4 separate regions of the Homo sapiens genome follow, and regions 2, 3 and 4 are each linked to region 1. Evidence: promoter capture Hi-C in 16 types of primary human blood cells and fetal thymus (Javierre and others, 2016). All regions are on one chromosome and are shown on one strand. Each heading gives the region's core, a stretch centred on a gene start or on the middle of the fragment in contact. The rest is flanking DNA. Distances are from core to core; before and after follow the strand shown. Region 1 holds the start of SMAD2 (SMAD family member 2). Region 2 holds the start of SKA1 (spindle and kinetochore associated complex subunit 1). Region 3 has its middle 5.8 kb from the start of CXXC1. Region 4 overlaps MBD1 (methyl-CpG binding domain protein 1).

What was found. The method cuts DNA at HindIII sites, captures the fragments that hold promoters and counts their contacts. A CHiCAGO score of 5 or more calls a contact.
Region 2: the fragment with the promoter of SKA1 here is called in contact with the fragment with the promoter of SMAD2 in region 1 in 1 of 17 cell types (neutrophils); the score reaches 7.8 in neutrophils.
Region 3: a fragment that was not itself captured here is called in contact with the fragment with the promoter of SMAD2 in region 1 in 1 of 17 cell types (neutrophils); the score reaches 7.8 in neutrophils.
Region 4: a contact is called between a fragment that was not itself captured here and the fragment with the promoter of SMAD2 in region 1, in 2 of 17 cell types (neutrophils and naive CD8 T cells). The highest score is 10.7, in neutrophils.

The regions. Positions count from the first base shown.
Region 1 is chr18:47,927,260-47,933,468 of GRCh38, forward strand. It overlaps SMAD2 (SMAD family member 2), which reads right to left and starts at 3,400. Exons shown (of 11, transcript NM_005901.6): 1 at 3,102-3,400. It overlaps LOC124904297 (a long non-coding RNA gene), which reads right to left. Exons shown (of 2, transcript XR_007066360.1): 2 at 4,929-6,209. RefSeq lists silencers at 2,829-3,358, 3,389-4,318. The HindIII fragment of the contact is 8,478 bases long and covers 1-6,209 here.
Region 2 is chr18:50,371,216-50,377,424 of GRCh38, forward strand. It overlaps SKA1 (spindle and kinetochore associated complex subunit 1), which reads left to right and starts at 3,831. Exons shown (of 7, transcript NM_145060.4): 1 at 3,831-3,979; 2 at 4,605-4,703. The coding sequence starts at 4,616. It overlaps LOC105372114 (a long non-coding RNA gene), which reads right to left and starts at 3,663. Exons shown (of 3, transcript XR_935466.3): 1 at 3,380-3,663. RefSeq lists a silencer at 2,324-2,618. The HindIII fragment of the contact is 8,258 bases long and covers 1-6,209 here.
Region 3 is chr18:50,290,381-50,296,589 of GRCh38, forward strand. No RefSeq gene overlaps it. Among named protein-coding and RNA genes, the nearest start is that of CXXC1, 5.8 kb to the left of the region's middle. The HindIII fragment of the contact is 1,003 bases long and covers 3,438-4,440 here.
Region 4 is chr18:50,267,922-50,274,130 of GRCh38, forward strand. It overlaps MBD1 (methyl-CpG binding domain protein 1), which reads right to left. Exons shown (of 17, transcript NM_015846.4): 12 at 5,643-5,942; 13 at 5,413-5,550; 14 at 4,903-5,034; 15 at 4,756-4,817; 16 at 3,548-3,619; 17 at 925-1,897. The coding sequence ends at 3,580. Among named protein-coding and RNA genes, the nearest start is that of CFAP53, 4.5 kb to the left of the region's middle. RefSeq lists an enhancer at 166-355 and a silencer at 516-785. The HindIII fragment of the contact is 1,766 bases long and covers 2,074-3,839 here.

The sequences.
Region 1 (6,209 bases), core at 2,150-4,649:
TGTGCAAAACTGGTGCCAAGGTCCCCCCAAAATACACAGATTGTTCCCAGTGACACTGAGTAACACTTCACATCTTCCCTAGTGCTATCTGCTACATGTTACAGGAAGCAAGGCAAGCTCACTTTAGGAATGGCTCAGTAATGCATGTGCCCTTGATTTGTACACTAACAACTGTCTTACTCTAAACACTGGAGAATAGGGCAAGGGACATGAGTTTCCACTTTTCTAACTCCATTAAGGAACAGGGGTGTACTTGTTTGCTGTTAAGAGACTTTATTGCCTAGTCCAGAGCCTGACACACAGAAAAAGCTGTTTGTTGAATAAATGAATAAATGTATTTGTTGAAAATAAATGCATCGGCCAGGCGCGGTGACTCACGCCTGTAATCCCAGCACTTTGGGAGGCCGAGGTGGGCGGATCACCTGAGGTCGGGAGTTCGAGACCAGCCTGACCAACATGGTGAAACCCCGTCTCTACTAAAAATACAAAATCAGCCAGGCATGGTGGCGCATGCCTGTAATCCCAGCTACTCAGGAGGCTGAGGCAGGAGAAGCGCTTGAACCCAGGAGGCGGAGGTTGCGGTGAGCCGAGATCGTGCCATTGCACTCCAGCCTGGGCAACAAGAGTGAACTCCGTCTCAAAATAAAATAAAATAAAATATATAAATGCATAATCTCTCATAACCTCTCTTAACTGGTTGTGAATTCCTTACGTTTCACATTTTCTGACATACCTTTGGAATACTTAGGGGAAAACATCTTACCTCTCACAGAAACTAAGGGCCTAAAAATGGCTCTTCTACACCCATCAAAAGACTAAGAATCTAAAAGACATGCCCCCCTCTACCCTCTAAAAATGACTCTTTGTCCTAAGAATATGAATAAATCTCCATCTGCCAGACTGCACTAAATACAGCTTTTATATGCATTACAAAAACACCTGTATAAAAAAGCTGCTACAAAACGAGGTTTTTGGAGCCCTAAAGCACAAAACCAACAGAATCAAAACCAAACAAGAACAAGGAAAGACTTTTAAAACTGACAGTATTTGCAAAATGTAAAAATTCAATAGGTCTTTGGCCAGCGGTTTACACAGCTAAACCGAGTTTTTCCATTGACATATATTCCCCCAAATGTGAAGTAAAGATTATAGCAACATGATTCTAATATTTACAATGTGAAAATGAAAAGGGGACAACAACCTCTGGCCATCTTGAAGTAGAATAGAAACAACCTTTGTTCCTACTAAAGTTCTGTTGAAATACCAAAACCATCCCCAATATTCCTACACAAGAGTTAAAACACATACCAAGCCTGATAAGACACAAACAACAGGAAATTACCCTGCACAGTTTCTTAAAAGACTATTATTTCATGAAACTTACAGACTGTGTAGAGACATGACCACTTATGACTAAGTAAACGTAGGTTACAACCTTGAAAACCCAAACTTTTGTTGAACACCTACAATGCTTGTGGCCGCACTTTAGAAGGTGTGGCTAAGTATAAAAACCAAGCTCTAAGAGCAATTTCTTACTAAAACCCCAAAATGAACGTTTCCAATCACATTACATTAATTAAACCTGGCCAGTGAACAGCCTTGAACTCAATTAAATCCAGCAGAGTTTAATATTTATAGTAAAAGTGGGCACACTCTTTAGAAATGCCGAAAGATGTGAACTATTTATATTTACTACGACAGCTAAGTTTACGGCAACGGCTAAGGAACTTTAAAAATAAAAGTATTACTTTTGAATTTAATATAAACGTTTGCTAAATGACCTTCTGGCAGAGGAAATTCTTTAAATATCTTGTATGGGTTTTCCGAAGGCAAATTTTTTAAATACCCTCAAACTATGGTACATTTATGAAGCCCATTTTAAATTACTTCTCCCATCTCTGCTTCATCTGCTTCACTAATTCATGTATTAAAACTGTTGAAACTCCATTTAACTATTTGACTAACTTCTCTGTAAGATGGAAACTTTTTAAAGGGTGTTAAAGTAGAATAGCAAATTTTCAGCATAATAAGAGCAAATTTATTACTAGGCTCAAGGAAAACATCCTATCAGCGATTCATTCATACGAAACTATCAGGTTCAATTCATATGAAGTCAGAAGAGAGAAAAAGAATTTTGGAAATTAAATCACATTTCAAAGACCATTTCTAAAAAGATGTAATTATTCCAAGTTATTTATTTATTAACAATTATTTTACACATGTCGTTTTAAAAGTTTCACAAACCCAAATTTAAGATAGTCCAAATTGCAACAAACAAGACATGACTTTGATGGAAAATGCTGCTTGCAAATTCGTTTTACCTGGAAATTTCTTTTTTAAAGGTATGGTTGACAACACACTGGTGGTATTTTGCTTTTAAAGGGTCAAGAGAAAGGAATAACAAAACCAACCCAGGCATTCTTTTTCTGTTTAGGATCAAAAGGACATTTTAAGGATAAGTAAAAGACAAAAGTACCTGACCCAAAGACAATATCCCCCTCCAAGAGAACAAAGTAAGTTGCAATTTTAAAAACCAAGTTTGAAATACGAGAAATCACTTCGAGGGCTTTCCAAAGGCGTGTGATAAAAACTAATAGGCTCCACCCGCAGAACAACTTTCACAAGTGAGTGAAGGATGATCACAGAGTTATCAGCTGTGTGCGTGTTTGTGAGTACACACAAGCCATGGAAAACCCGAGACTACCACTGTTAACAAAGGTTACGAGACCAAAAAAAAAAAGTGGAGGCAAAGTATTACGCGTCCCTAACAAGGCTTCCCCACAACTCCTGAAACAAGAGCTCTGGCCCTTCGGCTTTAAAAATCAGAACCACAAACTATGGAGTGTGAGAGCAGCGAGGGGAAGGGACGCAGGCAGCCCCCGCCCCCGTCAGCCTGGGCGGCAGCGCAGTGCAACCGAGCCCCGTCCCTTCCCGGCTCTCCGGCCCCGAACCCGCACGCCCGGGCCGGCGCACCCACAGCCCCCGAACTCACCACACCCCAGCCCCCACCCGCAGCGGCCATGTGACACGGCCCATCGCCCCGGCCGCGGACGCACGCAAACACTTCCCTAGCTGGAGGCCCGCGGGCGCCCAGGCTTTACCTGCAAGGTGGCGCCAGGTCCCGCCCCGTCAGATCCGGGGGGTCCGGGACCTTTTGTTCCTTCCTCTTCCGATGGGATGGAGGGGGCTGGGAGGGGAAGAGGGGAATGGGCGATTGGAGGCGGAACTGAAAACACTCCCGGCCGCCGTCTTCCCGCCCCGCCCCCAGGCCCGGGCCCGGCCGGCGGCCCGGGCGCGCGGGAGGGTAGGGGAAGAGAGGGGAGGGGAGGGGAGGAGAGGGAAGGGGAGGGGAGGGAGCCTGGCCGCCGCCCGCGGGGAAGGAGGGGGTGAGGACGCGCGCGCCCGCGCTGCCCCTCCTCCCCTCAGGCGCGCGCCCGCAGCCCTACCGGCCGCCCGCACGGCCGCGCCCTCCCCCGCCAGCCCACCTCCGCTTCCGCCCTCCGCCCTCGGCCGCCGGCCGCCGCGGCGCCACGCACCCACCTCCCGGCGGCTGGCGGGCTGCTGGCTGGCGAGCTGCTTCTCCGCCGCCGCGGCCGCGCGGGTAGACCCGCCTGCCACCCTGGGCCGCGGGCCCCGCCGATTCGCCGGCGCAGCCCCGGGGCTGGCACCCTGCCGCCCGCTGATTGGCGCCTCCAGCCGCCCGTTAGGGCGCGAGGCACGCCGGCCGAAAGCCGCGCGGGGCGGGTATGGAAGACGGAGGGAGCGGAGGAGGAAAGGAACGAGGCCGAGCACCGCGGGAAGGGCCGGGGGGCGAGCGGGGCGCGGGGAGTCGCCGGCCACCGCCTCCCCACCTCCCTTTGCCTACGGCCCGCCCCGCCTCCCGGCCGGACCGGCGGCGCCCGCAGCCAATCAGCACGAGGGAAGCTCGGGGTGTGAGCCGCGCATCGGGGGCCTCGAATCGGAAGGGAGACGTCGCTCGCTGATTGGTCCCGCCTCCCCAGTCTAGCGTGAGGCGAGGCGGGGCGCGGCCGGGCGGGGCGGGACGCCCGCGGTTTCGCTTGAGTTGGGCGCCGGCGCGCTCCCACCGGGGCTCACGGGCGGAGAGGGAGAGGCCCGCGCCTTGCCGCGCATTAAGACGATTCCCGGTGACCGCCCGATCCCTCGCCAGCGTCGTGGGTGGGGCCTGTAGGGGCCTGCCGCCTCGTCCACCGTCCGTCGTGAGGCCGGCAGCGGACACGTGCTCATCCCACGGGGAGGCCCCGCGCAGCGCGGAGGACGCGCCTGAGAGAGAAAAGGGGTTCGGGAGAAGCCCGAGGACCCGGCCCGTGACTGGGCGCGCCCTATGCAAATGAGCGGGCGGGGCCCTCGTGTTGCTGAACGAGGGCGGGTTCGCGATGTAAATAAGCCCAGAGGTGGGGTCTTTGGAGAGCACTTAGGGCCCGGGTAGGGGATGCCAGGTATAAGTGTTTAACCTAAATTTTGGTTCCGTCTTCAGTAAAAATGATATCAATAATCCATGTCCCGAAGGGTCTTTGTGAAGTCTAAAAGAAACATCTGTCACGATGTCCCTTAATGGCTGGGATATCTTCCCTTCCCCTTTTCTCCACTGTTGCGACGATTAGGCCCCAACTTGCACATCTGCCCTACAGGAGGCAGCAAGGCCCTAAACTTACGGCTGCCCAGAACATAACTGCACCCAGGGAAAACCTTGTTGCGGTTACCCTTAGGAACACCCAAGCCTCTGCTGACAAAATATTGAGCCCAACTAATCACATCAGGTGTTTACTATGCACCCACTGTGACACAGGCAGGGAGTACCGTAGAACTAAAGTTGAAAAGAAACTTAGGTTTCACACAGGTGCCAGAGACAAGACTAGAACACAGTTTTTTTTTGGCTGCCTGTCCAGTAATTCATTCTCATGTGTGGCTTAGTTTATAGATTTAATTGGGGACTTCAAATAAGCGGGAAAGAAGCACTAGCAATACAAATCGGTAATCAGGAAGTACCAAATGAGCACTCCAAACAGTAAGAGTTTTTGAAGTATACGCTTTCTTCTGAGAAATGAACGTGTCCCAGAGGAGGGTGCCTTCAGATGGACCTTAAGAGAGATGTGGCCATCCCCTGAGTCATACAAGTTTTCCAGATGTCCTTTCAAAATCTCTGTCCTTTCCACCGTCTCTGTCCTCACACATAGAGGAACTTTTCTCACGGGAAGGTTGCGATGAAGAGCATAAACCCAGGAGTCAGGCACGTTGTAGCTTTGAGTACGACTCTGTTCCAGATCTGTAATCTTTGGCAAATGGAACTCACCTGCAACGATACCTACTTAAATATAGTTGTGTGATGATTAAATAATAAATATGAAAGTAAATAACATAGGGCTTTGAAGTTCAAGGAAAGTCAGTGATCATTAACTTCTCTTCTGTTGCGTGCGAACATTTATGCTGAGACGAACCTACTCAGCAGAAATTCTTCCTCCAAAAATTCCCTTCCAGGGTGGTTTCTTCCATTGTTAGTTTAGAGGCAGCTCTACTAACCCCTTAATAAAAATAAAAAAGTTTGTGAAGGACACCCAGGAAGCCATTTGGTGGAGCTGTCCCACCTCCTCTGCCTTGTTTCCTCTTTCCAGAGCCACTAGGGAGGACGGTCCAGGGCAAAGGCTGTTCAACTTACAAGTAGGAAGGCTGTTTCTTGTTTTTGGTCTGTCTTCCTGCTAATACAAGTCAACAGTTGTAATATGAAGTAGCATATTAAAAGCTACCCTGGTCACACAAGTATTTTCTCCTGTGTGAACAGGGTGTGGATTTGGGTGTCCACCTGAGTAGTAGAAATAGGAACCAAAGCAGGCCTGGCTGGGATTCCAGAATGTGCTCCTAGTATGGAAGTTAGGTACTTTGAGGTTACATTAATTAAGTGGGTAGTACGCCTGAGGTCTAAGTTAGACCATTTCTCCAAAGTCTCAGACTTTGGGTCCATAACTCTTCCATTTAGGAAGCCTTCCAGGATCTACAATTGAGGAAGAGGGAGAAGGGACAATCTGGCTACCAATGCAGTCCCCAAGGGGCTTAGAAATGGGAGCATGCCTACTGTCCCCTCTGCTAGAAATGCATCTAAACCAAAGTGGGTCAAGACAGAAACTGAAGGCACATAGAGCAGGGATTGCTATGGCAACAAACAGCTTGGAAATCCACTAGGGTACCTCAAGATC
Region 2 (6,209 bases), core at 2,581-5,080, 2.4 Mb after region 1:
GTCTCCATCTTTTTTTTCCATCTTCCCTTGTCTCATGTATGGGTGTCATTTTCGACATCAGAAAGAGAGACTGAGAAAGAAAGAGAGGGAGCGAGAAGTTTTGCATGTTGAGTACTTTCCTTTCCTGCCTCTATTCATATTACAGAGCACTGGGCCTTTGTTAGGGGTAGCTCTGGTGGCACAGAAATTGGGGCTCTGACTACAATGCTAAAAAAGTATATATTGGATAAAGACTCAATATGGTAAAGAAAGAACACCAGGAAAATTGTAAGACATTTTTCTTCTTCCTCTCTTCTCTGGTTTAAAGCAAATAAATCAACCAACACCACAAGAACTACATATCATTTGAGGACATGAGACATTGAAAAAGGGAAGAGTTTGATTTTCTGAAATGATTTGTCTCAGCTGCTATGACTGCTTGTGAGAATTAAGAAATTATCCCAGTGAGTACTGTGTTACAAGTACATGCAATGGATTTTAATTATGTCAGCTGGAAAAAGACTTAAAAACAAGCCAAAGGACTGTAGATTAATAGGAAATGTAAAAATATAATCTGCCTTGGGTCAATTCTGATCAGTGAGGCATCTCAGAATGCACCCCATCTATTTCAGTGGGCCCTCCCTCTTCTGAATGAAGACTTATCAGCACCAGAGATCTATGAAGCTGCCCCAAAACCTATTGGACCAGCTGGTCACTTGTCATTGGTCAAAACATTAGAATAAATGTTTCCCAAAATGCCCAGAAATGCAATCCTGTTGCTTACAGAGATCCTCAATCCTAATTCTACAATGAGGCTCTTAGTTAATTCTGACTTGGGGACATCCAGAAGTTAACCTTGACACCTAGCTGTAAGAAAAAGCACAAAGTAGAAATACAAAAAATAAAAATAAAATCTTTTCTTTCAAAGTCAGCTGGGTATGAAAAATATGAAATTCATAAATAATCTAGAATTGTTCATGTGATGATATAACATGAGGAAATTATACAGTGACGGATACAATTTTCTTCCACCCTCCTAAGGTCTCTGGCCAGAACTGAAATAGTACAGATTAACAAGAGAAAAGCATACAATATTAATAATTTTTTTTACTTGTACATGGGAATCCTCACAAGAAAAATGAAGACCCAAAGATTCAGTTAGAGCTAAATGCTTATATACCATATTGGACAGAGTAGTAAATTGTGAAAATATGACAAGAAAAAGGGGCTTAGATTTGGGCAATGAATCATGGAGAAGTGACTAGGAAGATACCGGTAAGCACAACAAGTTTTGTTTGTACAGATGTCTCTTGTCTTTGACTTCTCATGTCTAGGGATAAGAATGTTTCTTTCCTCTTGGTGTAGTGAGGACATCTCTCACATGGGACTTCCATCTTCTGCTTTCAGGAAGAAAAAGGAAGGCCAGTGTGCCCTTCTTGCACCTGCTGCTTTTTAAGTGCTTTTCACTCAAAAGAATCAATATGCTACAGTGGCATGTTTTGAGGTGGTGTGTTCTGAACTCCTTCCCTACCCAGTATCTATGCTCTCATTCTCCCTTACAAATAGAACTCCTATAGTCTGTTAAAAGAAAAACTTTAGCCTAATTAAATTTAACAGTGTTTACTTGAACAAAGAATGATTCCACCAATCGGGCAGCCTCCCCAGCCGGAGTAGGTTCAGAGACACTTCAGCACAGCCATGTGGTGGAAGATTTATAGACAGAAAAAGGAAGTGATGTACAGAAAAGGAAGTGAGGTATAGCAACAGCTGGATTGGTTACAGTCAGTGTTTGCCTTATTTGAACACGGTTTGAGCAGCTGGCCCCCTTTCATCGGCCATAACTCAGTGACTGGCACAAGAGTAGATTACAGTCTGTTTACACCTTCATTTAGGTTATAGTTTGCGACTTACAGAGAAAACTTTAGGCACAACTTAAAATATGTATGGAGGCAACTTTAGGCTAAACTTAAGTCTCGAGGATGCAATGTAACTGTCAGGCCTCTGAGCCCAAGCTAAGTCATCATATCCCCTGTGACCTGCACGTATACATCCAGATGGCCTGAAGTAACTGAAGAATCTCAAAAGAAGTGAAAATGGCCTGTTCCTGCCTTAACTGATGACATTACCTTGTGAAATTCCTTCTCCTGGCTCATCCTGGCTCAAAAGCTCCCCCACTGAGCACCTGGTGACCCCCACCCCTGCCTGCCAGAGAACAACCCCCTTTGACTGTAATTTTCCTTTACCTACCCAAATCTTATAAAACGACCCCACCCCTATCTCCCTTAGCTGACTGTCTTTTCGGACTCAGCCCGCCTGCACTCAGGTGAAATAAACAGCCTTGTTGCTCACACAAAGGCCAGTTTGGTGGTCTCTTCATACGGACATGAGTGAAAGTAACTGTCCAGATTACATTTTTTACAAAAGATTTTTTTCAGTCTCCTTCGCAGATGGGAGTGACCAGTGAGAAGCAGATGGAAGCCACTGGGTGTGGCTTCCAGCACAACGCTCTCAAAGTGCTGGTTCTGTTGGCAGTTAAGCCTATTACACATGCCTCTTGCTCGTTTCTGCTGCCTGGGAGAAAGACCTGAGGACAGGGGCTGGCAGCCTGAAGGTCCAAGTGCATAATAATAGCGCAGTGGAGCCAAGGGATGGACAGAACCTGGCGGTGCCACCACTCCAGCCTTGGGTGCTTTTCCCTCCTTTTCAACAGGGAGAATTAAACTTTTGTTTTTCTTATTTTAAATTTATATTTGCTCTTAAGTGGCAGGCCAGGTCTCACTAACAGCTGAACAGACAGGCCTCCGTAACCACTGTTTCAGCACTAGTTAAGTTAAATATTAAAAGCTGAAAGAGCCAGTGTCTTTATAGAAAGGCTGGTATGTAACAAAAGCCCACCAAGAGTTTTGCCCAGGCCTTTCCTGGTCCTTGAAGCATGAGAAAATAAAGAAGGAATTCTTAACAGGACCTGTTCAAGATTAAACAAGTTTTTATTGGGGGTCTGAAGAAACTCCCCCAGACCTCCACAAACAAGTTTATCGGGGGTCTGAAGGAACTGCCCAAACCTTCATGATTTAGCAGGAGACAAGATAAGGGTAATCACCTCTGGCACCTGCAGCCATCTAGATTAAGTAAATTTACTTAAATAAAGACCTTCCTTAGGACTGATCTTAGTTATAGATTAGAAACAGTTAATCATTTACGTCTTTACACACATGCACACTTACATGTAGACAGATAGTTTAGAAGGTATATAAGCTCTGGAAAACTTTGTAATTTTGAATCGATTTGGCGATATTTTCCAGGCCTTTTCCCTGTACCCGGTTACCGAAATAAACTCTTCTTTCCCAGTTCATCATGAGAATAAGCAGCCCAACCCCTGGTTTGGCCCGGGAACACTTACAGAGGCTGTCTAAGACCCAGAAGACAGGGTCACTGTTTCTTCCACACAAACTTAGCTGCTCTTTGGAATTTTCTGGGGTGTTTTTATAAATACTAAGGCTTGTGCCTCATTTCCCCAGTGTCTGATTTCACCGACTTGGGGTGTACTCTAGGCACTGAGACTTGTAATAGCTGCCCCTGGTGACTCTAAGGTGCAGCAAATGTCAAAGACCAGGACTTGGTGACGCCAGGTCCCTGGCTGGGCTGCGGTCAAGACTGCATGACCTGCTGAAATCTCCCCAGACTGGTTAGCGCGGAAAGAGCACCTCCGGGTTACCCTTTCGTCCGGAAGCCCCGCCTTCGCCGTCGCCCCGCCTTTCCCCGGCTCGGCCACCCCTCCTTCCCGCCCAGCTGTGGCCCCGGATGACGCAAACCGGGAACAGCGGCTGAGCCTGCGCTTCGGAAGCATGGATGTGCGCCTGCGCTGCGCTAGGGCGCGGCGGGCGGTTTGAATTTTGCTTACAGAGTCCCGTCTCACCATCCTGGGCTTCCAACGGAGACTGCGGTATCCGCAGCTGGAGACCCAGCGGCGAGTAGCCTTTTGCTCCCGGACGGACTTGAGGTTGGAGTCTGTGTGTTGGGGACCCTGCCTTTGGAAGCGCCCGAGGTAGCTGCTTGGCAGCTGGGGGCCGCGGACCGCGCCGGGCTTGGGGGAGGACGGGGCTGGAGGCTGGGTTGGATGCTTTAGACCCTCCCCTTCTCTCTCACCGGCGGAGTGGGTGGGAAACTGGTTCTTTCCCATTTCTCGGCCTCCTTACCGATCCCAAACTGTAAAGCCCCAACCCCTCACAGCACAGGAAAAATGATTACCTGGGCCCATTTCTTTGACAGTGTAACACATTTTTAAAAAATGTGTCCTTATTTTGCGTGTTTAAAGAAAATACCAATGTTGTCTTTATATACAAATAGTGCGTTTGTCCTCCTGAATCCTTAAGGAAAGGACCCAGGCTTATCCTCTTTCCCCTGGTTTGGGATCCATCGATGGCCTAAGGCTCTAAGACAAGTCAGTACGGTACCGTGGTTAGAAACTGAATGTTGTAGAAATGAAAGAAATTGCTCTTGAATTTTTGTGCTTAACCTTCAAAGACATGTGATTTACTTGACATTGACCATTCTTGGATTTCGAAAGTGAACAGAAATTTGTGTGGCTTTTCTTGTTACGAATATGTTTATGTTTTTTTCTTCAGAGGCTTAAAGGATGGCCTCGTCAGATCTGGAACAATTATGCTCTCATGTTAATGAAAAGATTGGCAATATTAAGAAAACCTTATCATTAAGAAACTGTGGTAAGTAAAACAGATTCCACTGACTTTGTATATACAAAATGCATTTTGATTATTCCACTCTGAATGATATCTTTGCTTGGTTAAGTGACTGCATCTTAGGTAATTTTAGATTTTTGCATAACGATTTTTTAAATAGTCCAATGTCATTTTGAATATTGTGGAGGATACTAAAAATGTAAGGTACATTGAACAATGAACTGAATATTCATTAGAATTATTTACTTATGTTTTTCTGAGACACATAGGCCAATGGTGAGATTTGAAGGTTATGTGGCATCCATGGTTCTACAGCTAAATAGAGATACAGTCATGCGTTCCTTAATGATGGAGATGTGTTCTGACAAAAGCGTTACATGATTTTGTCGTTGTGCAAACATCACATCATAGAATGTACGTAAATGTACACAAACCTAGATGGTATAGCCTACTACATATCTAGGCTATATAGCCTATTGCTCCTAGGCAACAAACCCGTATAGCATGTGACTGTACTGAATACCTTAGGCAAGTGTAACACAATGGTGAGTATTTGTGTATCTAAACATAGAAAAGATACAGTAAAAGATTAAAAATGGAACACCTGTATAGGCCACTTACCATTGATGGAGCTTGCAGAACTGGAAGTTGCTGTGGGTGAGACAGTGACTGTGAGGGCCTAGGACATCACTGTATACTACTGTAGGCTTTATAAGTACTATACACTTATGCTACACTAAATTTATAAAAAATGAAAAACTTTCTTCAATAATACATTAACCTTAGCTTACTATAACTTTTTTACTTAATAAACTTCTTAGTTTGGCTTAGCTTTTTTATTCTTTTCTAATAGCTTAAAACAAATACATTGTACAGGTGTACAAAAATATTTTTATATCTTTATGAGCTTTTTTTCTATTTTTTTTTAACTTTTTAAAATTTTTTTGTCAAAAACGAATACACACACACACACACATTAGCCTAGGCCTATGCAGGGTCAGGATCATCAACATCTGTCTTCCACATTCACATCTTGTTCCACTAGAAGGTCATCGGGGCAGTACCACACATGGAGCAGTCATCTGTGATAACAATGCCTTCTGGAATATCTCCTGAGGGATCTGCCTGAGGCTGTTTTACAGTTAACTTTTTTTTTTTAATAGGTAGAAGGAGTACACTCTAAAATAACAATACAAAGTATTGTATAGTAAATAACATAAACTAGTAACCATTTATTATCAATTATTATGTACTATACATAATTGTATGTGCTGTACTTTTGTAATACTGGCATTAGAGTTTGTTTACACCAGCATCACCACAAACATGTGAATAATGCATTGTACCATGATGTTATGATGGCTCCGATGTCACAAGGCAATAGGAATGTTTCAGCTCCGTTATAATCTTATGGGGCCACTGTCATATTTATGGTCCATTGTTGACTGAATCACTGTTATGTGGCACATTATTAAAAGGCAAGTTAAAAAAACTGATGTAGAGCTCCATAGGGGTAAAAGTAGTTCATAA
Region 3 (6,209 bases), core at 2,689-5,188, 2.4 Mb after region 1:
CAGCATTCACAGCCATTTTATAAATACTACACATTACCACAGCAATATAGTGCAAAAATCAGAAACCACATAAAATACATATTTAAAGGAATGAGATAAAAATAAATATAAACATCTCTCATATTTTCTCAAATCCCCAGCACCATCTGAAATGCTGCCCTTGAGGAGCTCCCAGTTTACACTATTGGTGCTCACTTTGATCTGTGTGCAGTCTGGTATGGACATGGTGAAGCAAACAAAGATTAGTATTTTGTCAAATAGTAAATTTTTCATAAGTCTAGCTTGATGATGATGGTAATAGTCATAATTTTAAAAATCTTCTATTTGGTTAATGGTTGATAGTTCGCAAGATACTTTCGCACATGATAGTTTATCTGATCCTAATTGCCTTATACGGTGAATGGAGCAGGAGCCTTATTGTCCCCACTCTGCAGTGAAAGCAATTGAGACTCAGGGAGCCTAAGTCCCTTGCCAGGTCACACAGCCAGTAATAATGGATCTGATATTAATAGTAAAATCTTCCTACTGTGAGTGTTGGGCTGTGGGCTGGAATCAGGGAATAGACTCAGGGAAGCCCCAGGACGAGAGAAGCTAGATAAAAAAGTTCATGAGGCAAGCACAGAATGGAGCAGATTCTGAAAGCTAAGGGTCACAGTGGACCTGAGTTCAGGAAATGGATCAGAAGTCCAGGGGATCAGACACCAGGAATCAGGATTAGGTTCTTAGGCAGGAGAACAAACAACACAGAATGAGAAACTAAGTACAGGATCTCAGCACAAGGTGGGGATCACAGGAAAGGGAAAGGAGAGCTCAACTCTACCAAAGATTCCTGGGAGGGGGACGGAAGTCTTCCAGACACTTCTTGCAAACAGCAAGGATGACATAAATATCCGAAATTCAATGACAAAACCATGCTTAGCACTTCAATTCTAATTTGCCAGCAAGCACAGACAAAATCAGTACTGGAATCATTCGCTGAGGAATATACACAGTCTTGCTTTCTGAAGTTTTAGTTACCCATGATCAACCATGGTCTGAAAATATTAAGTAAAGAATTCAAGAGGGCTGGGCACAGAGATTCATGCCTGTAATCCCAGCACTTTGGGAGGCCGAGGAGGGAGGGTTCCTTGAGCCCAGGAGTTTGAAACCAACCTGGGCAACATAGCAAGACCTCGTTTCTACAAATTATAAACACTTAGGCCGGGTGCAGTGGCTCACGCCTGTAATCCCAGCACTTTGGGAGGCTGAGGCGGGCAGATCACGAGGTCAGGAGATTGAGACCATCCTGGCTAACACGGTGAAACCCCGTCCCTACTAAAAAATACAAAAAAGTAGCCAGGCGTGGTGGCAGGTGCCTGTAGTCCCAGCTACTCAGGAGGCTGAGGCAGGAGAATGGCATGAACCCAGGAGGCGGAGCTTGCAGTGAGCCGAGATCACTCCAGCCTGGGTGACAGAGTGAGACTCTGTCTCAAAAAAAAAAAAAAAAAAAAAAAATTAGCCGGGCATGGTGGCACGTGCCTGTGGTCCCAGCTATGCAGGAGGCTGAGGCAGGAGGATTGCTTGAGCTCGGGCTGTCCAGACTGCAGTGAGCCATGACTGCATCACTGAACTCCAGTCCAGATGACAGAGCAAGATCCTGTCTCAAAAAAGAAAAAAAAAGAAAGAAAATTCCAGAAATAAACAATTCATAAGTTTTAATTACCATGCCATTCTGAGTATTGTGATGAAATCTCACACCGTGCCATTCCATCCCACCTGGGATGTAAATTATCCCTTTGCCCAGCATATCCACCTGTTCAGTTTAGTTGAATTCTGTTTTTTGGACCAGTCTGAAAATCATTCTATTATAATGACTATTAAATTCATTTACTGACATTGATATAATATTCAAATGAACTCAAAATTGGCTAAAAAAAAATCAGGGCTTAAGGTATCTACAGATGCCTAGACTCAGTGTGGATTAGGTAGGGCAGGGCTGGGGTGGGGAGAGAGCAGAGGGGTGTAGCAGAGGGCTAGGTCCCATTGAGTTAGAACTGGGAAGTGACTAAGCCATATCACAATGGTCTAAAACAGTATGAAAAACAGACTGTGGCCCTCTAATCTTTCTGGCATTTTGTGATTGCGGGAGGCAGGGACTGGGTCAAGACTGGACCTTGGGCAAGAATCAAAGCAGGTACTCACTCTCCAAATGGACACAGGGGCTGAGAGCAGGAACCAAGCCTAGAAGTCATTCAAGTGCAGGTGAATTGAATAAGGAGCAGGGAGGAGCCAGGATGGGTGACGGTGGTACTGACAACCACTTTGGCCCAGGGGAGAGTGGACTTGAGAATCAGCAAAAACAGCAGCCAGTGGGAGGGATATATTTAGAGCCCAGGCCATTCTATGCAGCATCCCTAGTCTGGAAAGAACTCAGACTCTGAATGCAAAGGAACTATTGTAGGTCTCTCATGAGGTTAATGTCCATTCAGGCACAAATTCAGGCAGAATTTGCTGAAACATGCCAGAAAAATAAGACCAAGGGATTCAATATCTATCTTATGTTTTCAATGACACTGAAATATTCTGTGGCTATTGCAATATCTTAAGTCATAGTTTTTAGAGGTATATTTTACAGTTCATGCCTTCAAGAACAAAGTGTTACAGCTTGAGTTTGATTCTAGGCTCTACTAATACTAGCTGCTTTACATTGCAGAGTGTAGTTAATCTTTCTGAGAACTTTTTCTCATCTATAAAAATGGGCAAAATTAACATCCTCCTAGAAAGACATCTGAGAGAATAATATGAATTAGGTCCAGAATGGGAACTCTCCAAATAGTGCCATGCGGTAAAAGATTAACTCAGCAGGCCTTGGTTGTTCAAACCTTCACATGAAAAAAAAATCTGATATTTGACTGGCTCTTGGGAGATAACCTTAAAGTGCTCAGAATTACTTGCCTAATAAGAATGTTCAGCTGGGCACAGTGGCTCACATCTGTAATCCCAGCACTTTGGTAGGCCAAGGTGGGTGGATCACCTGAGGTCAGGAGTTCAAGACCAGCCTGGCCAAGATGGGTAAACCCTGTCTCTACTAAAAATACAAAAATTAGCCAGGTGTGGTGGCGGGTGCCTGTAATCCCACTTACTCAGGAGGTTGAGGCAGGAGAATTGCTTGAACTCAGGAGGTGGAGGCTGCAGTGAGCCCAGATCACGCCATTGCACTCCAGCCTGGATGACAGAGCAAGACTCTGTCTCAAAAAGAAAAAAAGAATGTTTATATTTACCTAGGATCTTGGTCCACACCAGATAGTTTATGATAGCAATGTGATTTGTGGTGGGGACCTTGGGCCACAGGGTATCAATATGAACTCTGGAGAGGCCGGAGACTGAGTAACCAAGGTCAGCAATGGCACCCTCCATACTCATGTAACCAATCCCCTAATAAAAACCCTGGACACCAAAGCTTGGATGAGCTTCCCTGGTTTGCAATACTTCATTCATGTTATCACAACACTGTTTCTGGGATAATTAAGTGCTGTTTATATGACTCCTCTAGGAGAGGAGAACTGGAAGCATGGTCTTTCCTGTACTATAGCCTATGAGCCTTTTTGCTCATTCAATCTGTATTCTTTTGCTGTAACAAACTAATTGGGAGCTTAGCAGTGTTTTTGTATTCTGTGTGTTCTTCTAGTGAGTCATTGAACCTGAGGATGGTCTTAGGACACCTGACACAAATATCCTTTTTCCTCATATATTATACTTTCAAGCTGATGTCTCTGAAATGTTTAAAGACTGCCAAATGTCATGAACCAGTCATTTAATATCATTGATGAGGAGGACTTGTTTAGTAGCTTTAATTCTAATCTGCTCCCTCCCTACTACAGCTTCCCCGTCCCTAACAGCCACATTTCTTTTTTTTTTTCTAGATAGAGTCTCACTTTTGTCACCCAGGCTGGAGTGCAGTGATGCAATCTCAGCTCACTACAACCTCCGCCTCCCAGGTTCAAGTGATTCTCCTGCCTCAGCCTCCTGAGTAGCTGGGATTAGAGGTGCCCACCACCACACCCAGCTAATTTGTATATTTTTAGTGGAGATGGGGTTTCACCATGTTGGCCAGGCTAGTCTCGAACTCCTGACCTCAGGTGATCTGTCCACCTTAGCCTCCCAAAGTGCTGGCATTACAGGTGTGAGCCACCGCACCTGGCCCACATTTCTTATCACACTCAGGTTCCTAGAGAGGAACAAGTGCACCAGTTTTCTAATCTGACTTCTTCCTTTCCCACTTACGCCCTCTGAAAAAACCAAAAAGAATTAAATAGGCTTGCTTCTCTGGTTTGGTGGTAGATTCTTCTACTTTTTATTCCTACCCAACTCCTACGAACCAATTTCTATCCTGAATAGGTCAGTTTCTATCCATCGCAAAGCTCATCTGTAAATATCACCTTGAATTTTATAGCCTGCAGAAGCTTCCAGTTTGTGTTTTTTAGCCCCAGATCATGATGTCCTTGGTCCTACAGAAGACAGAGCAAATCTGAGGTTTGTCATACACAAAATGGAGCATTATAAAACCCTTTGGTACTGGTCTGTGTTCATGATAATTTTTTTTCTTGATTATCCCTGTGTTCTCTTCCAAAAGTTGCCGTTACAGACACCAGAACACTCCTGTAATTTTGTTAATCTGCAATGGTTTCATATATGAGCAAGTTGTTTCCTCAATGAAATTATAAACTCCCTGAAGGTAAGAACTAAGCATCTCTTGAAGAGTAAACCACACAAGGTGAATTGAATCCACAGTTGTGTTTCCTGCAGTGCTGTGAACACAGAATTGGTTTCATTACCATCTCTGTAATTGTCTATGTGCAAAGGGGGTTTTTAATGTGGCTTCTCGGGGTTGGTTTGAAGGAACAACAGAATAGAGGTGCTTGACCAACAGTTTAAGTTGCCTTCGTCTGGAGTACTGTGGAAGGCCCATCAATAATCTGCAGCACGCAGCATTCCCCAGGCCTCCTTCACTGTTTCTGTCCTTGAAGGTACCTGCTGTTCCCATTTCCAAGCCTGCAGGACCAACTCTACACAGCAAGTTCTCACAATTCAATTACAATCAAATCAAGCAGGCTCAGGAAAATCTCAAGAGTCACTTAGAGCAGCAGGAACCCAGGAACACATGGCTGGTTAACCACCTATTCAGGCACTGTCTCCTGCCTGGGCCAATCCCCTTTTCCATGTCACACACTACACATAGCAAGGGGACAACTATCCTGGGAGTCTAGGGGAGAGTAAAAGTGTTCACGATCCCAATGATAATTCTCCAGGTATGGAATTTGTATATTTTAAATCTGGCCTATGAGAGATGTGGGGTGGGGGAATTAGGGGCCCTCATTAGCTTTCCTCATCTTTCAAATCCTATCACACCCCTTTCCTTAAAAAAAAGGGGTTCCTTCTTTCAAAACCCACTTTTTTCTATTAACCAATCTTTATGCATTTAAATAAATCTTTCCGAACGCTAGTGAAAGGCATCGAGTATTTTTCTAAAAACAGCTTTATTCAGATATAATCCAAATACTATGCAATTTACCCATTAAAAGTTTACATTTCAATGGTTTTAGTATAATCACAGACTTGTGTATTTACTGCCCTGATCATCTTTTTCCTTTAATTAATTTTTTTTATAGAGATGGGGTCTCGCTATGTTGCCTAGGCTGATCTTGATCTCCTTGGCTCGAGCAATCCTCCTGCCTCAGCCTTCAAAAGTGCTGGGATTACAGGCCTGAGCCATGCACCTGGCCTCCCAGTCATTTTTTAGAACTCTTTCACTACCTCCAAAAGAAACTGCACCATTTAGATACCACTCCCCAAGCCCCTCCCCATAGGCAACCACTAATCTTTCTATCTCTGTATATTTGCCTATTCTGGATATTTCATATCAATAGAATCATATTATATGTGGTTTTCTGTGACTGACTTCTTTCACTTAGCATGTTTTTAAGGTTCATTCACATTGTAGCATGTATTGGTACCATTTCTTACTATGGCCAAACAATATTCCATTGTATGAACATAGCATGTTTTGTTTATTCATACATCAGCTGATAGACATTTAGGTTGTTTCCACATAATGACTGTTATGGATTTTGCAGCTATGAACATTCATATACAAGTTCTTGGTGCACACATTTTCATTTCTCTTAAGTATACAACTAGGGGTGGAATTGCTGGGTCATATGGTATGTTTT
Region 4 (6,209 bases), core at 1,707-4,206, 2.3 Mb after region 1:
TTTTCAGCCACGAAATAATGTTTTTCTTCTCTTTTAATAATTCTGTCATTTTGTGTTCTTTTCTATAACGGTTCTTTCAATTGCAGTTCAGTAAAATACGCATTTGCATTTACTAAGAGTTTACGTGGCCTGAAACAGAAAACAAACAAATTAGGTGGTCGTCTCGGTTTCCTGGAGTGTCCAGAGGGGCGGTTCTTTGATCTTCGAGTCCAACGGGCTCCGGGCCCGCCCGTCGGTCCGGGCGGAACCACCCCCACCACACATCCTCCGGGAAGGCGGCAATGAAAACGCCTTGGGCCCGAAGTACGGCTTGGGAAAATCGGCGCAGATTCGGGGCCGCCCGTTGGGGATTCCCAAGGTTGTGCAGCCCAAAGGGCCTCGTCGGAATTTCTGAGGCGATGGGGTAAACCGACCCTTGGCGACACCCGGCCGCACTCGAACGTCCTAGGTCGTCGAGCCCCGCCCTCACCCTGGGCGAGCTCCGAAATTTAACCCCGGTTCGGTTTTGCCTGTTTTACCACTATTTGAAGAGGGGGACTCAGCTTCCCTCTGGCCCTAGCCCAAGTACTGGGGTTTGCGCCGGACGGAGACCACGCCCCAGGGCGGCCAGGCCAGGGGTGATGGGTGACGAGCGGTGCCTCCAGGGCCCCGGTGGGTGACTGTGGCTGGGAACTACGGGCTTTCTCGCCCCGGCGCCCCCTGGCGGACCCACCAGCAGGTTGAAGGTGTCCGGCCAGTGCTGAGCACCAAGAGCCTCAGCCTTCAGCCAACCCCCCGCCCCCGCGGCCTAGGTAAGTGAATCGCTCAGGGTCCTTGGAAAGAAGTGACCTTGATTTGATCTTCCCACCCACTATCCCAGTTTCTCAGAGGCAGTCAACACTGTTCCCACCAAACCACTCCCAAAAGAAACACTAAGCATGTAAGTAAGTGGGACAATAAAAATTTAAAAATAATTTTAAAATAGAACAGCTTAGAGATAGAAACTAAATTATTTCCAATTCCTACTGTGCCCCAAACAAGGTTCACAAAAGGGCTGTCCTCCCAACAATTTTCTGAATTCTATATATTCAGCATTAAATTCCATGATAAAGTTGGAAATCCATTCACCATTTGTAATACATATTGATGCATTTAATAAAATTGCATGGGCCGTATCTTTTGCATTTCTGTATCCTAGTATTAAGTACAGTGCCTACCACAGGCCAGGTTCTCAATACTTGAATAAATGACACAAAAATAGCCAGGACCAGCAAGTTTTTTCTGGGTGGGCTTCATAGAATCTCTGTACTTGCTGGAATCACCATGAAATCCATGGTCTTCAGCTTTGCATTTTCAGCCACATAGTTATATTGAGTTATCCTCAGGTGAGCAGTGAGACCCTTGGGAGCGGATTCATGGTAGGGTGGCTTTGTAATGTGTCACCTTGGTGAGGCTATGTTTCCCGGAACTCTCTTCCAGTAAGATGGGCCACAAGAGACATTTTGCTTGATAACCGGAGGGCGGAAGTGAAGCAGCAGCACATTGTTTTTACACTTGGAAGGTTGGTGCTGGGGCACCAGGCGTTGTTGCAGTTCACACGTTGCCATGTATCTGCTAGATCACCTCGTTGGTGTGGGCAGTAGTCAGGCCTGCAGCCAGGCCTGCAGCTGCTCCACCTTCCCCAGGATCATCCTTTCAGCTTCTCTAATTCCTGGGCCAGATGCATATTTAACTCTGTGAGGAAGGGCACCAGCTTCTTCTGCAGGACACCCACATCATCGAAGCTGGAGGTGGTGAGAGACTGACATGGGTTCCAGGCCATCCTCGTGGGTTCCAGCTCGTGCTCGTGGGCTCCACTGTGTCCTCGGTCTCCCACACTTTACATCCATCTTCCCTTCCCGAGTGCCTGCCCTGCAGACTTCAAGCTCCAGCATTAGATGCAAAGACAACAGCCTTACAGAGACTGTTTAACCAGCTCCCACAATGGCATGCGGTCAGATCCCTATAATAAATCCCTTAAAATACATATATACATAATCTTTATCTTAGTGGTTCTGCTCCTCTGATTGTACCCTAACATAAATGGTCAGCAGAAGCTTAACTCATGAGTCTAAATGTCAATCAAATAAATTTCATATAGATCATTGTCAAAATTACCAGAATACTGGGGTTGGGTGGTTGGTTCCTGGGGGAAACAAAGCAGTATCAGTCTATCCAGTCTTGACTAGGGCTGAACTAGTTAGGATGGAATAAAGGAAGGGGTGGGGAAGGTGGCAGAGGCTGGACTGTATGAGACAGAACTGGGAAATGGCTAATCCATGTCTGAATTACTTAAAGCTGCAGGGCTGGGACTAGGGTAAGGCAAGGGAGGCACACAGGATACAAAGTTTAAGGAGGCACTCACTCAGTCCTGGCCCTGTAAAGCTGGCTAACAAATTACAGGTCTAATCTTTTTGGCACTTTATGAATGAAGAATTGGGAGAGAGTGAGGTAGGGCTGAGCCAAGACTGGCTCTTGGGCAGGACTCGAAGCAGGAATTCAGCCTCCTAGAACACATTCAGGCTGAGGGCAGGAGCCAAGCACAAAGGTGATCACAGGGCAGGAGATGCACGTTGTCAGGAAAGATGAGCCAGGCTGGCAGCTTTAGTTACAAAGACTGCTCTGGCTGAAGAGGGGGAGTCAGGGTAACAAGCAAAATGGACAGCAGCCAGTGGGGAGATATATCCTGTAGGGTTTGAGGAATCCTATGCAGCACCTGGGGTCTGCAGGAAACCCAGTTTCTGTATGAACAGATGCTCTGACAAGGTGACCCCATCTACATTGAGCCTTGGCACTCCCTAAACCATGCTAGAGACAGGAATGTAAGGGATTTATTATAGTAATTATAGTAATCTGTGTTTTCAAGGTCACCGAAAACTCCTGTTAGTGCATACAGGATTACAGGTTACAGTTTAGTGGAGTAAAGAACAAGGGCTTTAAAAGCTGGGTTTGAGTCTAGGCTCTACTAACACCAGCTGTTCGACATTGGACAAATTAATGAGTCTCAGTTTTCCCATCCACATAAATGGACAAAATCAATGTCTTCCCAAAAATATTATTTTAAGGATTAAATAAACTGGGTCCACAGAGGAACACACCAAATAGCAGTTCCTTTCCTTATTTATTCAATTACATTTTCAATTGCTATCTCCCTGAGGAAGTATGTAGAGACACTGCCAGGTCTCATCCAGAAGCCACTTACAATTACTCATGAACATGGCTTGTTTAGGTTGTTTTGTGGTGGCTTTAATTATATTACCTTTCTCCAACCCAGCTCCCCCACCCTTAAAATCCAACTTCTTATACTCAGGCTCTTGGGGAGGAGAAGATGCACCAACTTTCTACTCTTTCTCTTCCTTTCCCGCTTACTTCTTCTAGAAGCTCAAAGTACTCTTAGGCCTGCTCTTCTGGTTTGGTAGTAGGTTTTTCCTCCTAGGGTTGATTCACACACAAGCCCTGGCAACCAATCTAGGGTCCAGCCCCTAGTAGATCAGTGTTGTCTCTCATAAAGCCAGTCTGCAAATATCACCTTGAATCCTACAGTCTGTAGAAGCCTCCAGTCTACTGCTTTCTAGCTCCAGGTTTTTTAAGGTCTTTGGACCTAGGGAAAAGGGAGCAGGTCTGTATGTTGAATGAGGTTTGCTATGTGCGCAATGGAGCATTACAAAACCATTTCCTACTATTCTGTGTCCTCCATCCACTTCCCCTTAATTATCCTTTATCTTTTTTTATATCTTCTAAAAACTACCATTATAGACAGCTTGTACATAGTCAGATTATAAGCTCCCTGAAGGTAGGTATCCTGTGTCTCCTGAAGGGTAAGCTTTGCAGGGCTCATTGTCCTCAATGCTGTGCACCCAACAGGAACTCAATCAATACTTCTGTAATTGGCCAAGTATAGATGAAAGGGTTTCTAGCCTGGTGGGCTGGTTTGTAGGAGCAAAGGAATCCAAGTGCTTAGGCCAATAGTTTACATCGCCAGTGTCTGGGGCTCTATGCAGGGTCTGTCAATATTCTGCAGGAGCCAGCACTCCTCTGTCCTCCCAACCACCCTAGTCCTTACAGGCATCTACCCTTTGTTCTATGCCAGGACTACAGGGACAGTTCTGCAAGGCATCTGAAGTTAATAACCTCAATAGGCTCAGGAAAGGCTCAAGAGATCCAGCCCAAGCCCTTCCACAGAGGCCGCTCCAGGAAGTGCAGGGCAACCAGAGATCACACAACTACGTGTGAACCCAGCTCACAAAGCCAGCTCGGAACCCAGATCTCCTGCCCATACCACTGCCCAGGCAAGCCCAGCACCATTTCTCTGGTACACATTGCTCAATGTCAGGCAACAGCCCACCCAGAGGTCTCCTGGAGACTCTAAAGGCCTTCAAGACCCAAATGATTATTCTCTGAATAAGAATTTATATATTAAAGCTGACCCCTATAGAAATTCCTTAGGAAAATAGGGACCAGACTCCCTATCTTTTTCTTTCAAATCTCATGATAGAGTACCAAGTCTTTCCCCTACCCCCAAAGGAGAGTCCTAACCTGGAATGCTATTGGGCTGGATCTCAGGAGAAATCTCTAGGGTCCTACACACACGCCCCTCATTAATTGTGACCAGCATAGTGGGTATGGGCCTTTACCTCCCACCACACCATGCCAAACTGCCGGCTATACTTTCAAAACTCAGGGCCCACATCTGGCCAACACCCACTCCTTCCCCACCCCTCACTGTGTGGGGCACACCTTGGCAACCAGACTGCTGTATCTCGGAAGCGGGTTCCACCCAGGCTGAAAATCTCCGTGATCTAGAGAAGAATTAACACCATAGGTCAATGTGGTTGTTGGGGCTACAGCAGGGTCAGGGCAGGGTGGGGCATCCCCAGCACTGACCACGGGTGTGCCAGCCCCTCCTGCCTCTTCCTCTGGGGCCAATTTGGAGGCAGAATCATCCTTGTTCTCCTCCTTGTCCTCCTCTGGGTCAGGTGGCTCTTGCTTCACAGAAGGCAGGCCTGGGTCTACTGCCTGGGAGAAGTAGGAAACAGGCAACCATTAGAAGGGCAGAGTTCACCTGAGGAAAGTCTCTATCAGCCAACCCCTCACTGTGCTGACAAATCCTACTTCCATCACATTTCAACACAGAAAGTCCATCTCTCTGCCTACAAAGCTTTCCCATTCCCATTCCTCACTGACCTCCGTTTTTCTGTTAGCTGGATAGCAAAGCGGGCAAAGCTAGTTGCCTGTGGGAGGTAGGGTGTCTGTTAGACAGGCGGGGTAATTCTGCAGAAACGTCGCAATCAGCACATCTATTGCTCTGCTCAAGAGAACCATCATGGCTCATCATCACTCTGCTTACAGACCACTCCGCTACGGCACCAACAGAACATCCATCACTGCCCCCACCTTGCTAGGGCAGCCAGGCACCAATACGGGAGAAGTCAGGACAGCTGTGCCTGGTGTCCACTCGTCCTGGGTATCCGCCTTCTCTTGCTTCACCTGGGGTAAGGCCACAACCCAACTCAGGCCAGAGCACTGGGCCTCCTGCGTGAGGGAGGATTGCAGCAGACTTGGTCTCAGCTCCCTGGCATGCAGCTGGGTGAGGCTGGGAAGGCAGGACAGGGTGGGGCCCTCACCTGCAACAGGGCTTCTGTGGAAGCTGCAACAGGGCCCGGCACCTGCACAGGACTGCTTGCGCCTTCCCGTAAAAACACAAGGTCAGTGCCAGGCGGGGGCAGCACAAAGCCACCACCTGCTTCCTGCTTCGTTGGAGCCTGGGTATGGTCTGGTTGGGCTGTGCGTGTAGCCAAGGTGGGCTTCAAGGTAGGGCCAAGATGGTGCCGTCGGGCAGAGCTGGGCCTCTTTCGACGACGGTAAGGTGGGGGCGATCCTGCCCCATCCTCAGACTCTGACCAGACACTGGGCAGCAGCCGCTTCTATGGGGAAAGATAGGGTGCTATGGCTACCTGGTGTCCTGACCAATCACATCCACCCTGCCCGGCTCCACATGCCTGCTAATCTCCCATCAGTCCCAGCACGGAATCTGCTTACATATGAGCCCTTCATCACTGAGCCTGCTAGTCTCCTATTAGCAACACCAATGCCACCTAGACTCATTAAGCCAAGAACAATGTCTGTTAATCCTCAACCAAAGCTACTGCCCCACCCACCCACCTACCAAGCCTGCCCACCACTTCCAGGCA